Linked DNA regions of Homo sapiens: region 1 is linked to region 2. The links are contacts of gene promoters, found by promoter capture Hi-C in human tissues and cell types (Jung and others, 2019). All regions are on one chromosome and are shown on one strand. The core of a region is centred on a gene start or on the middle of the fragment in contact, and the rest is flanking DNA. Distances in the headings are between cores, read along the strand shown.

Region 1 (4,252 bases), core at 279-2,778, 150 kb after region 2:
AAAGCAATTTGATGAAAATCACACTGTGCAGTGCCTTGTCACTCCAGATATTTCACTTTTACATTAAATTTTTTTTCAATTAATTTAAAGGTAACTGCTATATGCCAGATATTCAGGCTATTCATCATTATTATTCATTTATTTATATGCAGCACTGTCATTTCCAAGGACATAATTCTTAATGAAACATAATTACTCTAAACCTATCTACTTGCTTATATAAAACTTTGTGAAATCTTTTTCCTAGAAAGAAAGTTAAACATTGGTTGAGAGAATGTTCACCTGGGACCTCTACATACCAGGCACACTTGGCCTGTATTCCTTGTCCCCTCATGCCTACCAGCCTCCTTGTCCTGAGCCCCAGGAGCCTCAGGTTTGTAGAGCATTGTTCCAAGCACAACAAAATCTCAACAAAAATTTGCTGATGGAAGGTGGCTTCCAGAGAAAAAGAACAATGCATGCTATGAAAGATGTGGGAAACGCTACTACACTGGCACTTGAATTAAGTAAAGACAAATGCCCATTAAAACACCCTGCAGGCACTCCCCTCATCCACTTCGTTTGACAAGAACATAGAATCACAGACTCAAAAGTATAAAAAAGCTTACAACAGGAAGAGACTTTGGAGCTAATGCTGTCCATTATTATTTTGTAGGTAATAAAACTAAGACCCAGAGATTCACTTCACTTGACAACCCTGGGGCAAAGAAGTACCCAGAGCCCACTGGTCATGACTTACCATGGGGTCTGTACCCCATGAGTGAAGAGTGGGGTAGAGAACGAATCCGCAGATGGAGAACTGTGGAGATCACTAACAAACTCCCCAGTCTACTGCCATATTTACAATGTCTAGCAATTCCCATCTATGAAATCACCTCCTTTGTTTCATTCAAAGCTCACTTTAAACTTTGACTCCTCTAAAAATACTCATTAGAAAAACATAAGGTTAATGTAATTTTTAAGGTAAAATTAACACAAGTCAAACACATTACTAATAATCTGGATTTTTACACTTTCAGGTAAACAAAAGTTAGCATCCTCTGCATCTGGAATTCTACATCAAACTCCCATGGAGTAAATTTAACAAATTTAAAATGTTTAGAAGGTAGTCACATGAAGTGTACAGCACATTGTGGTTGGTCAATGCTTTTGCAATCAGTCCAACATTTGCCTCTAAGTGTTGGGCAACCACAAACTCCATTTTTCTTGGAAGACAGTTCAGTGGATCTCCAACTCAATTTAGTCTGCTGCTGGCTGCTACTTGACTATGTGGTCAAAACTTTTGCTTTCATTCACCTCATACAGAAATCAGGCTGATAATCTTAACATTTCCTCTAACAGGAAAAGTAACTGACATGTGATGATGTATCAGTAATGGAGCATGAAGATTACCCTACTTAACATTCTTAAATGGTTCCCCAGAGCCTACAGGATAAAGTCCAGACTCCTTTAACTGGCTATCATGGATCTTCAGAATCTGAATCTCATTTATCTTTCTAATACCATTTCTCAATCCTCCCCCTTCTTACTCTCTGGCCCAGGCATGCTGAACTATTCTTAGCTCTCTGGAAAAGTCAAATGCTCTAGATATACTCTCTTGACATTTACCTGGCTAGTTCCTACTCACACTACAAAGGTCCATTTAGTGGCCTGCATCCATTTGGAGCCTATCATAATTAAATCAAGCATGCCCTAAATGCAGGAACAGTCAACCCACTTACAGTGAGACACCTCTCACATCAACATTTGCCTTTCTTCACTAATCGCTTGGTAAAATAGTTTATACTGATGACCTCTACTTTTTTTATCATCCAATAATTTCTAAACCCTTTGTAAACTTGCCTTCCCTACCATTACTCAACTTTTTTGAAGGCTGATAGTGTCCTCATAATCATTTATTTCATTGGCAATAGTTTTGGCAAATACTAAGCCTCCTTAAATTCTCTAAAGCTATCAAGATGCTAGTCACCCAGTCACATTTTCCCTTTCTTTTCCTTCTGTGACATAAAGTTATTCTGGGTCTCTTATTCTGATTGTTCCTACACTGACTCCACTTCTTTTTCTTTCACTTTTTCTTCTTTCCTGATTCTCTTTCTCTGATTGTTCCTTCATTGGCTCCACTATCATTCACTGGCTCCACATCTTCCTCTGATTAAAGATATTCTTCTGGGTTCATTAGATTAAAAACATCAGCAATAGGATGCCTCCCACTCCCTCAATTCAACAAACGCATTTGTGTATCCAGTTGATTCTAGCTTCTCAGGGAAAAAAGGAGAAATTACAATCCAGTAAAAAAAGATGTTAGTATCATTAAATATAACTTAGGTTCATATCTCAGGTCTGTCAGTCATGAGCAATGTGGCATGAGGTATACTACTTAATCAATTTAAGCCTCTGTTTTTCATCTATAAATTGGAGAAAATAATGCCTATCTTTTAGTATTACTTTATGAATTGCAGTATGCAAAGTACATATTCCAATGGCAGGTAGGTACATAGTGGGCATTTAATAAAAATTTTTCCTTATTACTGTTATTTCCACACTCACTTCCACCAAACTTATATAGTCTGTTTCAACTTCTTTTAGTGTGTCATACACATCAACAAAAGACAAATCATCTAGAGTACAGATATAAACAGGTTTCCTATCTGGCCCAGTAAGTCCCAACTGCTTGACTCAAAGCTCAATTTCTCCCGATTTAAAAATCTTCAGGTTCTAGCCCCAAGCTTCCTCTTCAACCTTCTCCCTCACTGCTCTTCTAAATGAATACCATTCTCCAAACAAATTGGACCTTTTTTGGTTCTCAAACATGCCGTATACTCTTCACCTCAAAGTCCACCTCAGATTCTACCTCCTTTATGAAACTTATCTCCCTAGCTGGATATTTTATCTTCAGAGTATTTTACTGGTACTTCTCTCAGAAGGTACTCATATTCTGCCTGGTATTCAATTATTTGTGCATAAATAACCTTTCCTGCTTATAAATTGTAACCCCTTTGAAGGGAGAAACTAGGTTCCTATTCGTGCTAGTACTTACCACTTAGCTAAGTGATAACACATGTATATTTAAAAATAATAAACAAGGCTGGGTGTGGTGGCTCAAGCCTGTAATCCCAGCACTTTGGGAGGCAACGCAGGCAGATCACCTGGGGTCAGGAGTTCAAGATCAGCCTGGCCAACATGGTGAAATCCCATCTCTTCTAAAACTACAAAAATCAGCCAGGCGTGGTGGCGTGCACCCGTAGTCCCAGCTACTGGGGAGACTGAGGCAGGGGAATCGCTTGAACCCGGGAGGTGGAGGTTGCAGTGAGCTGAGATGGCGCCACTGCACTCCAGCCTGGGTGACAATGTGAGACACCATCTCAAGATAAATAAATAAATACAAATAAAATAAAATAATAAACAAAAAACCCTGACTCTTTCTCAACGAATTATTTTCCTCAACTTCTTATGAAGAGGTAGGAATAGGGTGGGAAGGGAACAGTGTATATAGGGTACTTACAGAGGCACTGCAACCTGAATTCCCACTTGGAATTCTCCCAGCTGCTGCAAAAAGGCAGGGCTGAAATAGCTATTATAGAAATTGACTAGGTAAGACTTTAAGATCTGTTAATCGATTGCAGTCAACCTCTTGGGAAACCCTTTACCAATCTGCTAAGCTTGTCTATATTTCTTTTCTTCCCAACGGTTATTTTTCCTAACCTTCCAGTCTCCTCTAAACCAAGTAAACAAAAGATTTTAATTTAAACCCACAGTCGAACGCCTAGTGAAATACACGTGTATATTTAATGTTATGTATTAGTTCCTATTTAAGAATTTTATTTCTTTAAAATTTATTTCAACCAAAATCCAACACCAAATTCTATGGGTAATATCTTAAGGCAGCACCTAGTATAGTGCTTTGTATATAGTACACATTCAGTATGTAATGGTTAAAAGAGTGAATTTACAGTCTACAATTGCAGGACTTAATTTTGGCTAATTGCAGTGGAAAACATGAGAAAAGATATAGTCCAAGTAAGAATGACACTTGAGGGTTCAGGCCCGCAACACCAGCTAGGTAGACCCTTAGGTGGCCCAGTGGTATACAAAGATTTAAGCATTCCCAGCTGAGCCCCTTGACAATAGAGATACATCATTTTATTTTGTATCACTTAGTACTGTGCCAAATCCAAAAATACTCTCTCAAGTGCAAGAGTATTCAGGAGTTAGAAATATTGAAAGTTCCACTATTCAAGCAAATTAGGTATAG
Region 2 (4,466 bases), core at 546-3,045:
TGCCTTACAGAACCTGGGCCAGGCCCCATCCATCCTTGCGAGGTGTCTTATTGCACCTTCAGGTTGGAAGGACTGGGATAGGTTGCCCTGAGTGCCCAGCCAAGATGAGCCCTGGGCTGGCTAGGGAGGGACACAGAGCCAGTGCTTGTGTGAACAACTGATGACCTAACCATCCAGAGCCAGACAAAGAAGCAGTGGGAAACAAGGGCCTAGAGCTGGCTCTCAACCAGGGCTGGTTTACCCAGCACCCACACCCCAGTGCCTTTGACAATGTCTGGCGACATCTTTGTGTCTGGGTGCCACTGGGATCTAATGGGTAGAGGCCAGGGATGCCACTAAATATCCTACAGTACACAGGACAGGCTCCTGTAACAAAGACTTATGTGGCCTAGAATGTCAGTAGCACAGAGATTAAGAAACAAATCCTAGTCTAGGGAAAGAGGGTGAGAAGCGCTGAAATCCAAGTTGCTGCCTGGGAGGAAGCTGTCTCTACCCTGAGGAAGAGGCTCCTTTTCCTAATTCAGCCTGCACTGTGAGAACACATGTGAGCCCCAGGGAGGCACCCTGGGGAAGGTGGTGCTAGAGGGGAAGAAAATGTTATCTGCTGTCACTTAGGCTGTGATTTGTGCAAAAAGCGATTTAAAAGAGGTAGTCAAAAAGAGGGTCAAAAAGTCAGCCCATGTGATTATGTCATCTACTTGGTGGCAAATGCAGTTAAACCACAATGACATACCCACGCAGGTGACAAAGGAGATGTGATCAAAGATTTTCATTGCAGTACTGCTTTTAATAGTGAAAGATCAGAAACAATATAGTTTGTCCATCAGGGGACAAGCTGGATAAGCAATGGAATACTCCGTAAAATAATGGGGATACTTTCTATGTACAGCTATGGAAAAGTCTCCAGAATATATTAAGTGAATAAAGCAAAGTCCAGAACACCGTGGAGTACAGTGCTGCCATTAGGTGAAACGGGAGGAAACATTAATAAACAGTATATTGCTTACATTTGCATAAAGCAGCAGTGGATCTCAAAGTTGATTGTGCATCAGAATCACCCAGAAGGCTTTTTTAGCCACATGCACTTCAAATAACATCAACTATTTTACTTATTTATTTATTTATTTATTGAGCCAGAGTCTCACTCTGTCGCCCAGGCTGGAGTGTAGTGGCACGATCTCGGCTCACTACAACCTCCTCCTCCCGGGTTCAAGCTATTCTCCTGCCTCAGCCTCCCGAGTAGTTGGGACTACAGGCGCCCGCGACCACGCCCGGCTAATTTTTTGTATTTTTAGTAGAGACGAGGTTTTACCGTGTTGCCCAGGCTGGTGTCGAATTCCTGACCTCAGGTGATCCGCCCGCCTCGGCCTCCCAAAGTGCTGGGATTACAGGCGTGAGCCGCCGTGCCCGGCATCCTTTCTTTTATTTTCGGGAGAGACGTGGAAAGTGCCCCAATTTTCTCGCCCGTAGTTGAACCTCCCAGCTTTCCTGACCCCAGCCACCACCGGCGCGAGGCTTTAGACAAAGGCCTGTAAGTGGCCTCTTTCCTTAATCACGCCAGCACAAACCCCAGGAGATTGTTTCCCAACTCCCGAGTGGCTGCTGAGTGTGAGAAGTTAATGGCGTTTGAAGGAAATCCCCAGCAGCCGAAGAGTTCGGCCAACAAAGCAAACGTCCCGTCTCCGGTCTCCTCTTCCTTTGTAGGGGAAACGAACTGAACGTCTGAAACGAAGGTGGCGCGGCCTGGACAAACCTGACCCTTCGACATCCCCCGCCCCTGCGCCCGCCCTCGCTAAGCGGGGAGGAGCGACCGCTACAATGGATCCTCCCGCAGGCTTTGTGCGCGCTGGGAATCCAGCTGTCGCCGCCCCGCAGAGCCCCCTGTCCCCGGAGGGCGCTCATTTCCGGGCCGCCCACCACCCGCGTAGCACCGGCAGCCGCTGTCCCGGCAGTCTCCAGCCGTCCCGCCCGCTTGTGGCCAACTGGCTCCAGTCACTCCCCGAAATGCCAGTCGACTTCACTGGGTACTGGAAGATGTTGGTCAACGAGAATTTCGAGGAGTACCTGCGCGCCCTCGGTAAGCGCTGCCCGCTGCGCCCTGGGCGCCCCGCCGAGCAGCTCCGGGCCGCTCCCTAGAGCCCTCCCGAGACGCTGCCTGCCTGCCTCCATCCCGGCGAGCCGCGGTCCGGTGCCCCCGGACGCCAGAAAGGGCGTCCTCGGCCACCGCTCCCAGGGCAGCCCCCAGGCTGCAGATTGGAGAATTCGGGGTTGTTAGGTTAACCGGTGGCAAATGTCTGCTCGTTGGCCCTGGAGGTGGGTAATTTCATTAGTAAATCTGGGGCTTGGTTTGCTACTTTTTGTTTTTAAACGGTTAACATAAGAGCAGAAAACTTTGTTGGGGGCGGCAGGGGAGGCACAGGCAGGCTGTGCGCAGAGACAACGCAAAGCCAGCGGGAACCCTAACAGTGTTCGCGGGCGGAGAGGGCTCCTGGGGCCCCGCTACCTTGGGAACGGTTCTCTGAGTTTCCCTGCCAACTCTCTGGCGCTCTCTCTCTCCCCGTTCAACCCCCACCGCAGACGTCAATGTGGCCTTGCGCAAAATCGCCAACTTGCTGAAGCCAGACAAAGAGATCGTGCAGGACGGTGACCATATGATCATCCGCACGCTGAGCACTTTTAGGAACTACATCATGGACTTCCAGGTTGGGAAGGAGTTTGAGGAGGATCTGACAGGCATAGATGACCGCAAGTGCATGGTGAGGATTCGCGTCCACCTGGTGTCTCCTGCCCAGGGGGCCTGACCAAGGGCTGGGCTAGTTCATCCGAGAGGGGGCAAGGGCCTGAGGGACTGAAAACTCTTCCCACTCTCAGCCCCCATGGTGGGCAGCACCAACTCATGAAGCATCCTGCTCTATCTACACTGGAAGGTGATGGTTATGAAGGCTGCCATGTGCTGTGTCTCCACTGCGTTCAGGCACTCTGCCCGGTGCTTTATGCACATGACTTCACCTAAGCCTCACACAGCCTTTGAGGGAGATATGAATATGCCCATTTTACAGATGAAGAAACAGTCTCAAAGAGATGAAGTAACATGTCCAGAGTAGCACAGCTAGGGAGGGTCTGGAGTTCAAAGCATGTCTGTTGATGCCGTTCTCTGGCTGACTGGGCTGGTGGAGGGTAAAAGAAAAGAAAGGAGGAAAGAAAAAAGAAACACAGGTAACCCCTTTGAAGTGTAAACTTTCAGTATGACTTAGTGTGAAGTCACTCCAGGAAGCTGGGGGCCCCTTGATCTCTGCTGGAAGCCCCCTGATCTGCCCATCCTTGCCCCAGAGCTGGGATTTGGCTCCTGGCCATCCCCTGCCCCACCCTGTCATCCAATGCCTACTGAGCATTCTTTGAACTTTGCAGCTGACACCTATTCAGTAAGTCAGGGCCCCTCCAGCCCAGACCAGAGGAAACAGCAGTGGGGGAAGAGGGAGGGCCAAGAGCTCCCTTCCACAAGGGTGGGAAACTCCTGACCCAGGACATCCCAATTAGTACTGCCACAGCAGATGCCGGAAGGCCAGCCCCAGGCCTCCATCAACATTATCTGGTTGCTGGGAGGTCAAGGTACTCTTGTTCTCCCTTTATAGTCTTGGGTTCAGAAGTGGCTTATGTTCATCCCAGGAGCCACCTTGCTTATTGATGGGGTCCTCACCCACCACCTCCCACCATTTACCAAGGGTCTTTACCGCTGGTCTGCTGTGTGTCCAGCACTGTGCTAGTCATCTTACAGCACAGCACAGTGAGGGAGGGATAAGTAACCCCATGTTATGCAGTGACTGAGGCTCAGACAGAGGAAGAGACTTGTAAGAGATGAGACTTGAGCCCTGGGCCTTCTGATGTTGAAGCCCACAGTCCTGCTTTCTGCCAGCTTCTCTGCTGGTAGTCTGTGCAGAAACAAGATAGCTGAGGTCTGTTAGGATTGTAGTTGAAGGGATGCCCATGTCTGGGAATAGGCATCTGGAGCCTGGATGACTCATCCCCCCACCTTGTCTATTCATCTGAAGGCAGTCAGGATTGGTATCTGAGTCTGCTGTTTGGAATGATGGGAAAGAGGGGGTAGTCAGCAGGGAGTGGCCTTGGAAGGACCACTAATGGGAGAAAACACCATTGTTGCAGAGAAATGTCAGGTTGTGCCTTTAAAAATCTCAAGGACTCTTAATCTGCAGGAAAGACTCACAATAGGAAAGGAGACCTTCAGATGGCATCTGCCTTTCTCATTACTGCCCAAGACCTGCTCCCCGGCACACTGCATGGAACTTTGCTCCTTAAGAATAATCCTTACCCCCACTCACTATTGTGGAACTCACAGATCACATCGAACCTTTATTTTGGGTCACCACAAATCTGGCATGTGCTGGCTTGTACTAATTATCTTCACTCTTTCCTTCCTTTCTTCATCCATTAACACATGAAACATTTAT

What was found. Contacts are between HindIII fragments. The study calls those that stand out against the background at their distance.
Region 1: a fragment that was not itself captured here is called in contact with the fragment with the promoter of RBP1 in region 2 in 1 of the 25 tissues and cell types used here (H1 embryonic stem cells).

The regions. Positions count from the first base shown.
Region 1 is chr3:139,391,375-139,395,626 of GRCh38, reverse strand. The region is part of intron 1 of COPB2-DT (COPB2 divergent transcript); the gene reads right to left. Among named protein-coding and RNA genes, the nearest start is that of COPB2-DT, 3.7 kb to the right of the region's middle. The HindIII fragment of the contact is 3,330 bases long and covers 1-3,193 here.
Region 2 is chr3:139,537,071-139,541,536 of GRCh38, reverse strand. It overlaps RBP1 (retinol binding protein 1), which reads left to right and starts at 1,795. Exons shown (of 4, transcript NM_002899.5): 1 at 1,795-2,077; 2 at 2,578-2,756. The coding sequence starts at 1,819. The region is part of intron 3 of COPB2-DT (COPB2 divergent transcript); the gene reads right to left. RefSeq lists an enhancer at 2,720-3,919. The HindIII fragment of the contact is 8,428 bases long and covers 1-4,466 here.